3 separate regions of the Homo sapiens genome follow, and all the other regions are linked to region 1. Evidence: promoter capture Hi-C in 16 types of primary human blood cells and fetal thymus (Javierre and others, 2016). All regions are on one chromosome and are shown on one strand. Each heading gives the region's core, a stretch centred on a gene start or on the middle of the fragment in contact. The rest is flanking DNA. Distances are from core to core; before and after follow the strand shown.

Region 1 (2,783 bases), core at 1-2,500:
ACCAGCAGGGAGGGGCAGGAGCTTCCCGGCCGCGCCCACCCGGTGGGCACGGGGATTGGCAGAACCTGAGGGCGGTGGGTGTCATTCGAGGCGATGCCCCCAGCCTGGGCCACCTGGACCAGGCCCTAAGCTGCTTCCCAGAGCCAATCCCACCTCGGGGATCAGTTCTGGCCCCCTCCCCAGCCAAAGGGAGGAGGGGCTGGAGCCGCGGGCGCTGCTCCCTTGGTTTACAGTCCCCTGGCGGGCCTCAGCAGACCCCCAGCCCTGCAGCAAGCGGTCTAGGTGCCCAGAGAGAAAGCCCCGGGCGCAGGTGGGCGGTGTGGAGGGGCGGTCCTCTGCTGGCGCGCCGGGAGGGACTCGGGTTACCGCCTGGCTTGTTTACTTGATGGCTGCCTTGGCAATGGCCTTTGGCTTGCTTGTCCCCCTGGGCTCCTACCCCAGTATCCACAAGCTCCTCTTGTAGCAGCGCGGCATTCGCATCACTTCACAGCCCCGTTCCTGTCGTGCCTGTGCCTCTTCTATGTCCCCAGCCCTCTCCCTGCTCCCCCTCTGTAACCCCTAGCTCCACTGTGTCCCTGGTCTCCTTACGCTCCCAACCCCTAGCCCTGCACCCCAGACCGTAGCCCCACCCCTGAGATGTGGAGGGGCAGACGACCCCAGGAACCTCGCGGTCTGCATCCGAGCAAGTGCATCAGAAGGATTCTTAGGATTCTTCCGGTCCTGGGACCAGCTGCCCCACCCTGCGACCATTCCAGAACTGGGTAGCCAGAGACGCCTTCTGACAGAGGAGGAGGATGCAAGTGAAGAAGGCACCCCCTCCGCCACGCACATACTCACAACTCACCCAGCCACCACACAGAGCACGCCTGCAGCAAACTCAGGCTCACGTCCCGCTCTGCCCCGTGACGTCCCTCCACGGAGGCCTCAAGGGTGCCCAGGGAGGGGTGGCAATTCCAGGAGCCCCGGTAGCTGGCTCGGCTCAGAGAAGAGGTGGTTCGAGCCGGAGGGGAACAAGCCAGACCCAAGCCCTAAATTTGCGGAATGAGCTAGGGCGTCAGAACCAGAACTGGGGTGGGTAAAGAACTCCGCTGCCCGGGACCAGGTAACGCTCGGCTGTCCCTGGCGCCTAAGGGAGGTGCCGGAATAGAATGACTGGCGGCCCTACCAGCCAATGGGAGCCCGGGGCGGTGCAGGCCAGCCCAATTCCCGCAGCCTCCGCGCAGCGTGGGTGGGGTTTGCCGGCTGCGGCAGTAGCTCTCGCCTGCGGGTGGTTTGACAAGGCTGGCGGCGCCACACCAGCGACCAGGTGAGGCCGACCAGGCACAAAGGGGTGGGGGGCCTGGAGGGCCGAGTTGATGTTGGGGTGCTTCATTCTAGGTCCCAGAGCTTCTCTGAGGGAACTGGCCCTGGGTTTTGCGCGGGATGTCGTGGGACCCCTCTCCAGCAGATCCTCCCCAAAGCTTGGGAGAGGTTCATGCAGCCTCTTTAGACCCGGAGCCGCAGCCTGGAGCCCGCGGGTGTCTGGGGGTCTTCCTGGGCCTCAGCTGTCTAAGGTCCTGAAGCCCTATCCTCGAGGCCCAGCCCGCCCCACGCAGCCCCCGCCCCACCCCGGGCCACCTCCATGCCCGCATATGCATGAGAGAGGTGATGCCATGAGCTGTCCTGACCTCTCTTTTGTCTCACACCTCTCTAAGCCCCAGGGCCCGCAGTAATCCCAACTCCACTCTCAACCTCTACTGAGGACTGGGGACGGGAGTAGATGACTCAGCCCCGAGCAGGAATGAGGGGTGAAAGGTTCCCACCTGCCTTGTATAAAGTCAGCGAGAGTCCAAGATGGTGCCTGGACGGGGCAGTTCTCTGGCCTAGGGTGAGACAGGAGGGGGGCCTAAGGCATGGGAGGGCAGGATGCTTAAACCAGGGGGAGGGGTGGAAGTTTTAGGGGGCAGCAGGGGAAACATTTACACCCCTCCCTCATCCCTGCTCTCCCTGCCCAGGCCTGGAGCTCACACTTCTGAGAGGCATCGCAAGCGAGGGCCTTCACGTTACTGAGACCCCAGCCCCGCACAGAGGCTCATGGAGCTCGAAGCACGCAGGGCTGGCCTCTCCAGAGCTAGCAGATTCCTTCTGGACCTGTAGGGTGCCGCCCTAGCCCAGCCGCCATGGCGCAGGGTTTCGCAGTGGGCTTCGACCCACTGGGCCTAGGAGACCTGAGCTCCGGCTCTCTGAGCTCCCTCTCCTCCCGAGGCCACCTAGGCAGCGACTCAGGCTCCACCGCAACGCGATACCTGCTAAGGAAGCAACAACGGCTGCTGAACGGGCCCCCCCGCGGAATCCGAGCCTCATCGCCCATGGGACGCGTCATCCTCATCAACTCCCCCATCGAAGGTAGGGGCGGGACCCAGCCACTGGCCTGGGTTGGGGAGGGTGGGGGTAGGGGACAATGGGAACTCAGCAGGAGGAGGCAGAGCCAGTATGATTGGGGGAATTCAAGAGATGGGAGTCACAGGGAGGTGGCAGGCCGCCTGGGAACCCATACACTCTTCCTCACCTGCCCTTGGCCTCTCCTCCAGGCCAATCCTGCAGGGGTCCAGGGTCGTAGAAGGGTCAGAGGAGGGAAAGAAGGCCATGGCAGCAGGGACAGGCATGCGTGTGGTATGCTAGCCCCTGGTGGACAAGGCAGGGGATTGAACTGGCCTCTCTCCCATGGGCTCTGCCCTTCTCCAGATCCATTGTGTGTACTTCTGGGGGATGGGGCAGGATAAAGAAGGACATCCTCCATCAAC
Region 2 (2,783 bases), core at 100-2,599, 490 kb after region 1:
CACCTTTTTCCTGCAGTATCTGATACCGTACTTTTACTATACCTTTTCTATATTTAGGTATGTTTAGATACACAAATACTTACCATTGTGTTAGAATTGACTATAATATTCAGCACAGTAATATGCTAACACCATGTAGTACATGGTTTAGTCAGAGGCTACACCATATAGCCTAGGCATATAGAAGGCTACACAATCTAGGTTTGTGTAACTATACTCTATGGTGTTTGCACAATGATGAAGTCACCTAACAACACATTTCTCAGAACGTATCCCTGACATTAAGCATCACATGTCTGTATTTCAGAGAGGTCCCTAATATCTCAGTATACACACTCACATAACAGCTGAGGAAGGGAAAAGGGAACTTTTTAGAATACACGAAACTAGCTTAAAGACTCGACATAAGCCGGGTATGGTGGCACACGCCTGTAGTGTCAGCTACTTGGGAGCTAAAGCAGGAGAATCACTTGAACACGGGAGGCGGAGGTTGCAGTGAGCCGAGACCACACAACTGCACTCCAGCCTAGGCAACAGAGTGAGACTCTGTCTCAAAAAAACAAAACAACAACAACAAAAAAAAACAGACTCGACATACATTATTTCATTTAATCTTCACAACTTCACAACTATTTACAAGACATTATCATGTTTCATTTCTTTTCATTTTTCCTTTTTTAAGCAATAGGATCTCACTCTGTTGCCCAGGCTGCAGTGCAGTGGTGCAATCATAGTTCACTGTAGCCTCAAACTTCTGGCTTCAAGCAATCCTCCTGCCTTGGCCTCCCAAAGTGCTGGGATTACAAATATGAGCTACCATGCCTGGCCCTATTATGTTTCTTTTTCTTTCTTTTGAGACAGAGTCTTGCTCTGTCGCCAGGCTGGAGTGCAGTGGCGTGATCTTGGCTCACTGCAACCTCCACCGCCTGGGTTCAAGCAATTCCCCTCTCTCAGCCTCCCGAGTAGCTGGGACTACAGGCACGCACCACCATGCCCAGCTGATTTGTTTTCTTTGTATTTTAGTAGAGACGGGGTTTCATGATGTTGGCCGGGATGGTCTCCATCTCCTGACCTCATCATCCACCCACCTTGGCCTCCCAAACTGCTGGGATTACAGGCGTGAGCCACGGCATCCAGCCCCTATTATGTTTCTTTTAGAGCTGAGTAGGCTGAGGCTTAAGAAAGTGAAGTGGCTTGTTCAAAGTCATGGAGCTAATAAGCGGTGAAGACAGGATTAGAAATCAGGTTCATATGACTCCAAGCCATGCTGCTTTTGAAAGATTTCTTACCTTCCATGCCAATGAGCAGCAGGTTAGAGGTAAGCTGCCCCCAGCCACGCTTTCCCTGTTGCTTATTAATCCAGTTCCAGTTAAAACCTAAGAAGTCCATGACAATCTTCCTGCCCACAGTGTCATTGAGCGTTTGCTGCAGATACAACCTATGTTCCCCAAGAAGAAAATCCTATTAGTGCATGCACACACAGCCCCTGGCATGGCCTCTCCACATCTGAAAATCCAAGCCCAAATCCATACCAGCATCTCCCACAGAGAACAGATGTAGTCAGGCAAATTTTAGCCAACATGGATTCTCATACAACTGAATTCTTACTTATCCTTCATTGAGTTATGTTCAACACCAAATTTTTTAATTTACTGGTTTTTCTTTGTTTTGTTTAAAGAAACAAGGTCTCAATATGTTGTCCAGGTTGGTCTTAAACTCTTGGGCTCAAGCAATCCTCCTGCTTCTGCCTCCCAAAGTGCTGGGATTACAGGTGTGAGACACTGCATCTGGCCCCCAAACTTTTTCTTTAAAGAAGTGATGCTTAACCTTTTTTGGGTCACAGAATGACTCCTTTAAGAATCCAAAGAGTAGGAGGGTGAGATGAAAAATAAAATTAAAAAAAAAAAAAAGAACCTGGAGAAGAAGTCCCAGCTACTCAGGAGGCTGAGGCAGGAGAATCACTTGAACCTGGGAGGCAGAGGTTGCAGTGAGCTGAGATCGTGCCATTGCACTCCAGCCTGGGTGACAAGAGCAAGACACCATCTCAAAAAATATAAATACATAAATAAATAAATAAAAGAATCCACGGAGGTTCCCCATAAAAATGCACATACACCCAGAACTTTCACACAATTTCAGACTCCTAGAAGCCTATCCACAGACCCTAGAATGATGAATCAGTCTCACTCCAGAGACTCGCAGAGCCTGAGACATCTCCGTTGGCCCTTGATGACCACTGTGGTAAATTGTATTACTGTTCACCAAGAGCTGGTTCCCTCAGTGTGCGAGTTTTCTTTCACATCCCCTTGAAGCCAGGCTTGCTTATTTACGCTGCTCTGGCCAAGGAAATGTCCACAGAAGCGACTTGTGTTGTTTCCAACTGTAATTTAAGAACAAGTTACCACTACCACATCTCTTTCCTTCTGCCACAGCAACTCCAAAGTTCTAGATAGTAGCTGCTGGGGCAATCTGGGTGCCAGAGCAAGTAAGATGATGTAAAGAACAATATGACATTACCCATGATCAACATGTAGTAAGTGAGAAATAAGCCTCTGTTGTTTCTAGCCCGAGCTCTGGCTTGAAGCCTAGTTTATCTTAACTGATTCAGCCACCTATCCTGTTGCAGCCTTCTACAGCTAAAGTAAGGAAGATAGCTTATTAGGTAAAGGCCTCAGGCTCCTAACATACCTGAGGAAGGTCATAAGTTACTTAAGAGATATGAAAACCCAGACACACTTGAACAAGCCCACAAGAGACATTTAATAAGTGTGCAAACCTAAAAA
Region 3 (2,783 bases), core at 99-2,598, 470 kb after region 1:
TGAGCTTGCAGTCAACTAAACCCCCCAGGTCTTTTCTTCATGAACTGCTGTCAAGCTGGGCCAACCCCTACAACCGGTACTTATGTCATTGATTTTGTTTTAACCTAAGTGCAGGACTCTACATTTATCCCTGTTAAGTTTAATCTTGTTGGTTCCAGCCCAGTGTTCCAGCCTGTTGAAATCGTTTTGAATCCTGACTCTTTCATGCAAAGTATTAACTGCCCCTCCTAGCTCTATCACCTGCAAACTTGATGAGCCTGCTGCTTCGGTCAGTTGTCAATAAAAATGTCAGAGAGGACACAGGCCCAGACTGAGCCCTAAGGCATACTGCTGGAGACTTCCCTCTAGTCTAGGCTGACATGGATCCATTAATCAACCCTCACTGGGTCTGACTGTTCACCAAGCTTCCTAGCCATTTGGTTCAGATGCTTCTGCCACAACTAGATAACATGAGAGGCTTTGTCAGAAATTTGTCAGAGGCTTTGCTGGAAATTTCTCTTGCCCAGGCTGTGGCCCCCACATCAAGCTTAGGCCTTCTTTCTACCCTCCACACCCCACCATCATTTGTTTACTCATAACTTTAGGGGATTATATTTCCAATGGTGCCCCCTCCTGCATGACTTAATATTTCTGAGCTTCAGGATCACCTTGGGTGTGCCTTTGCTATTTCATATCCCATCATCCTATGCCTCCTCTGAGACCTCATTCTCTTAAATTCTCTGTCCTGCCACCTTCTCTGCCTATAAATGTGCAGTGGCCTCCCTTGCCTAAAAAGCTCTCTACTAGCTGCCCCCTTAAACTGTGGTTGGCTTCTGCCTCTGTCCTTCTTTTGAAAATCCAAACACTTCCAAACTCACCTTTCATGTCTCCTAAGCCTTTAGCAATCTGGGCTGCCAATCTCTCAGCTGAGCAACCATATTGCCCAAGCAGTGGACAGTGATGGTGGAGATAGAAGCAGAAGATTCACAACCACATCACAAAGATCAGATATGGTGGCTGCATAAAGCAGAGAGCCCAGGACCCCTCACAGACCAAAGTCAGGCTGCGGTCAAACTAGGCAGGTGACCAGAATGTTCAAAAGGACTGAGACATGAGGTCAGAGCCTAGGCAAAGTGCCTGGTCACAGACAAGAGCAGTGAACACTGAGAAGCCTGAGCCTGGGGACTTCTTACACAGTTGCTATAGGGGTTGGAATCAGTCCTGGAGCCAGGTCAGCTGGGAAGACAGCCTGGCTGGAGGGGGGAATGATGTGAACAGAGAGAGGTAGGGCCTACACTTTTCCTGAGCCCTTATTCTAGGCTGCCCAGCATCAGTTGTTAGCAACTCCAGAGTGCCTCAAGTTCAGGGCCATACCCTCAAATATCTATGTGGGCCAGACAGGTCACGTGAGTGAGATCTAGGGTACAACAGTGAAGAGTGGAGATTGACAAACTGAAAGGAACACAGCCAAGGGGGCAGTTGCTCTTCAGCTCCAGCCAACTGCTGTCACATGGGAAAGGCGATTTCATTACTGCCAGATCTGATTTTCCAAAGAGAGAAATCTTTTTAGGTCAAGTTTCTGATCTTTAATGTTGTCAATTTTTTAAAACTTTCAAAAACTTGTATTGGCCAAACAAAACCATGTCTGTGGCCGACTGGACTAGCGGTGGCCATCTTTTAACGGCTGCTAGTTACGTGGTACTTGTAGAGGCTAAGTGACTTGGGTGTGTGGTAATATTACATTTAGAACCCACTCTCTGAGTTTCTTAATGTCAATGAGAGTGACTTTGGGTTATATAGAAACAATTTATATTCATAAATTACTTTGGTTAAAAAATATATTCAAGGCCAGGCACAGTGGCTTATGCCTGTAATCCCAGAACTTTGGGAGGCTGAGGCAGGACTGCTTGAGCCCAGGTGTTCGAGATCCGCCTGGGCAATGAAGTGAGGCCCCTGTCTCTACAAAAAATAAAAAATTAGCCAGGTGTGGTGGCATGTGCCTGTGATCCCAGCTACATGGGAGGCTGAGGCAGGAGGATCACTTGAGTCCAGGAGGTTGAGGCTGCAGTGAGCCATGCTTGCCCCACTGCACTCCAGCCTGCGTCGAAAAGCAATGCCCTGTCTCAGAAAAGAGCAAACTATTCACCTCTTCAAAGTTACATATCCAAAATCCTCTCTTTTCTAAGCTTTTAAGTTCTGCTAACAAATCTTATTATTTTGCTTATAAAACAAAAAAGTTTAATGTTTGATCCAACTTACATTTAACTAAACTCCTTTAAACACTTAAATGGCATTTATATGATTAATGTATTTGATTTCCTTAAGTACTTAATTTATCTGACCAAGACAAAACCTGATCAAGTACTTATATTTCCAATAAATTAAGTTTATAAATACAGGAAATCTTAAGTTGTTCTAAATGTTCTAAAACTACAGAAAGACTTAGCAATGATTGTACCACTGTACTCCAGCCTGGGCAACAGAGTGAGACTCCGTCTCAAAAAAAAAAAAAAGAAACTTAGCAAAATTTCAACTTAAAATTCGAGTATAAATACACACTTTTTAGTTGGCATTACAAAGCAAACCTGTTACTCTCACAAATGCTCTTCCATATGTCAAGGACTTAAAATACAAACTGCATAGATCCTTACAGCAAATAGTAATGATGTGGGGGTTTGATGTTTTTAAACACACCTGTTCTTCATCCTAAGTCCTCCATCATTAAAAGATGCACACCTACCAAGGAAACACCTGATGCCACTGCATGTATTTTGGAGGTTATCTTCTCAGATGACTGAGATTGC

What was found. The method cuts DNA at HindIII sites, captures the fragments that hold promoters and counts their contacts. A CHiCAGO score of 5 or more calls a contact.
Region 2: a contact is called between a fragment that was not itself captured here and the fragment with the promoter of PDZD7 in region 1, in 2 of 17 cell types (total CD4 T cells and non-activated CD4 T cells). The highest score is 5.3, in total CD4 T cells.
Region 3: a contact is called between a fragment that was not itself captured here and the fragment with the promoter of PDZD7 in region 1, in 1 of 17 cell types (fetal thymus). The highest score is 5.2, in fetal thymus.

Annotation. Positions count from the first base shown.
Region 1 is chr10:101,029,596-101,032,378 of GRCh38, reverse strand. PDZD7 (PDZ domain containing 7) reads left to right here and starts at 1,250. Exons shown (of 17, transcript NM_001195263.2): 1 at 1,250-1,306; 2 at 1,995-2,385. The coding sequence starts at 2,160. It overlaps SFXN3 (sideroflexin 3), which reads right to left and starts at 1,145. Exons shown (of 12, transcript NM_030971.6): 1 at 845-1,145; 2 at 1-65. RefSeq lists an enhancer at 623-832. The HindIII fragment of the contact is 3,909 bases long and covers 1-1,462 here.
Region 2 is chr10:100,539,289-100,542,071 of GRCh38, reverse strand. HIF1AN (hypoxia inducible factor 1 subunit alpha inhibitor) reads right to left here. Exons shown (of 8, transcript NM_017902.3): 3 at 1,290-1,438. Among named protein-coding and RNA genes, the nearest start is that of HIF1AN, 4.7 kb to the right of the region's middle. The HindIII fragment of the contact is 8,099 bases long and covers 1-2,783 here.
Region 3 is chr10:100,558,758-100,561,540 of GRCh38, reverse strand. It overlaps HIF1AN (hypoxia inducible factor 1 subunit alpha inhibitor), which reads right to left. Exons shown (of 8, transcript NM_017902.3): 8 at 1,543-2,783. Among named protein-coding and RNA genes, the nearest start is that of HIF1AN, 24 kb to the right of the region's middle. The HindIII fragment of the contact is 1,639 bases long and covers 529-2,167 here.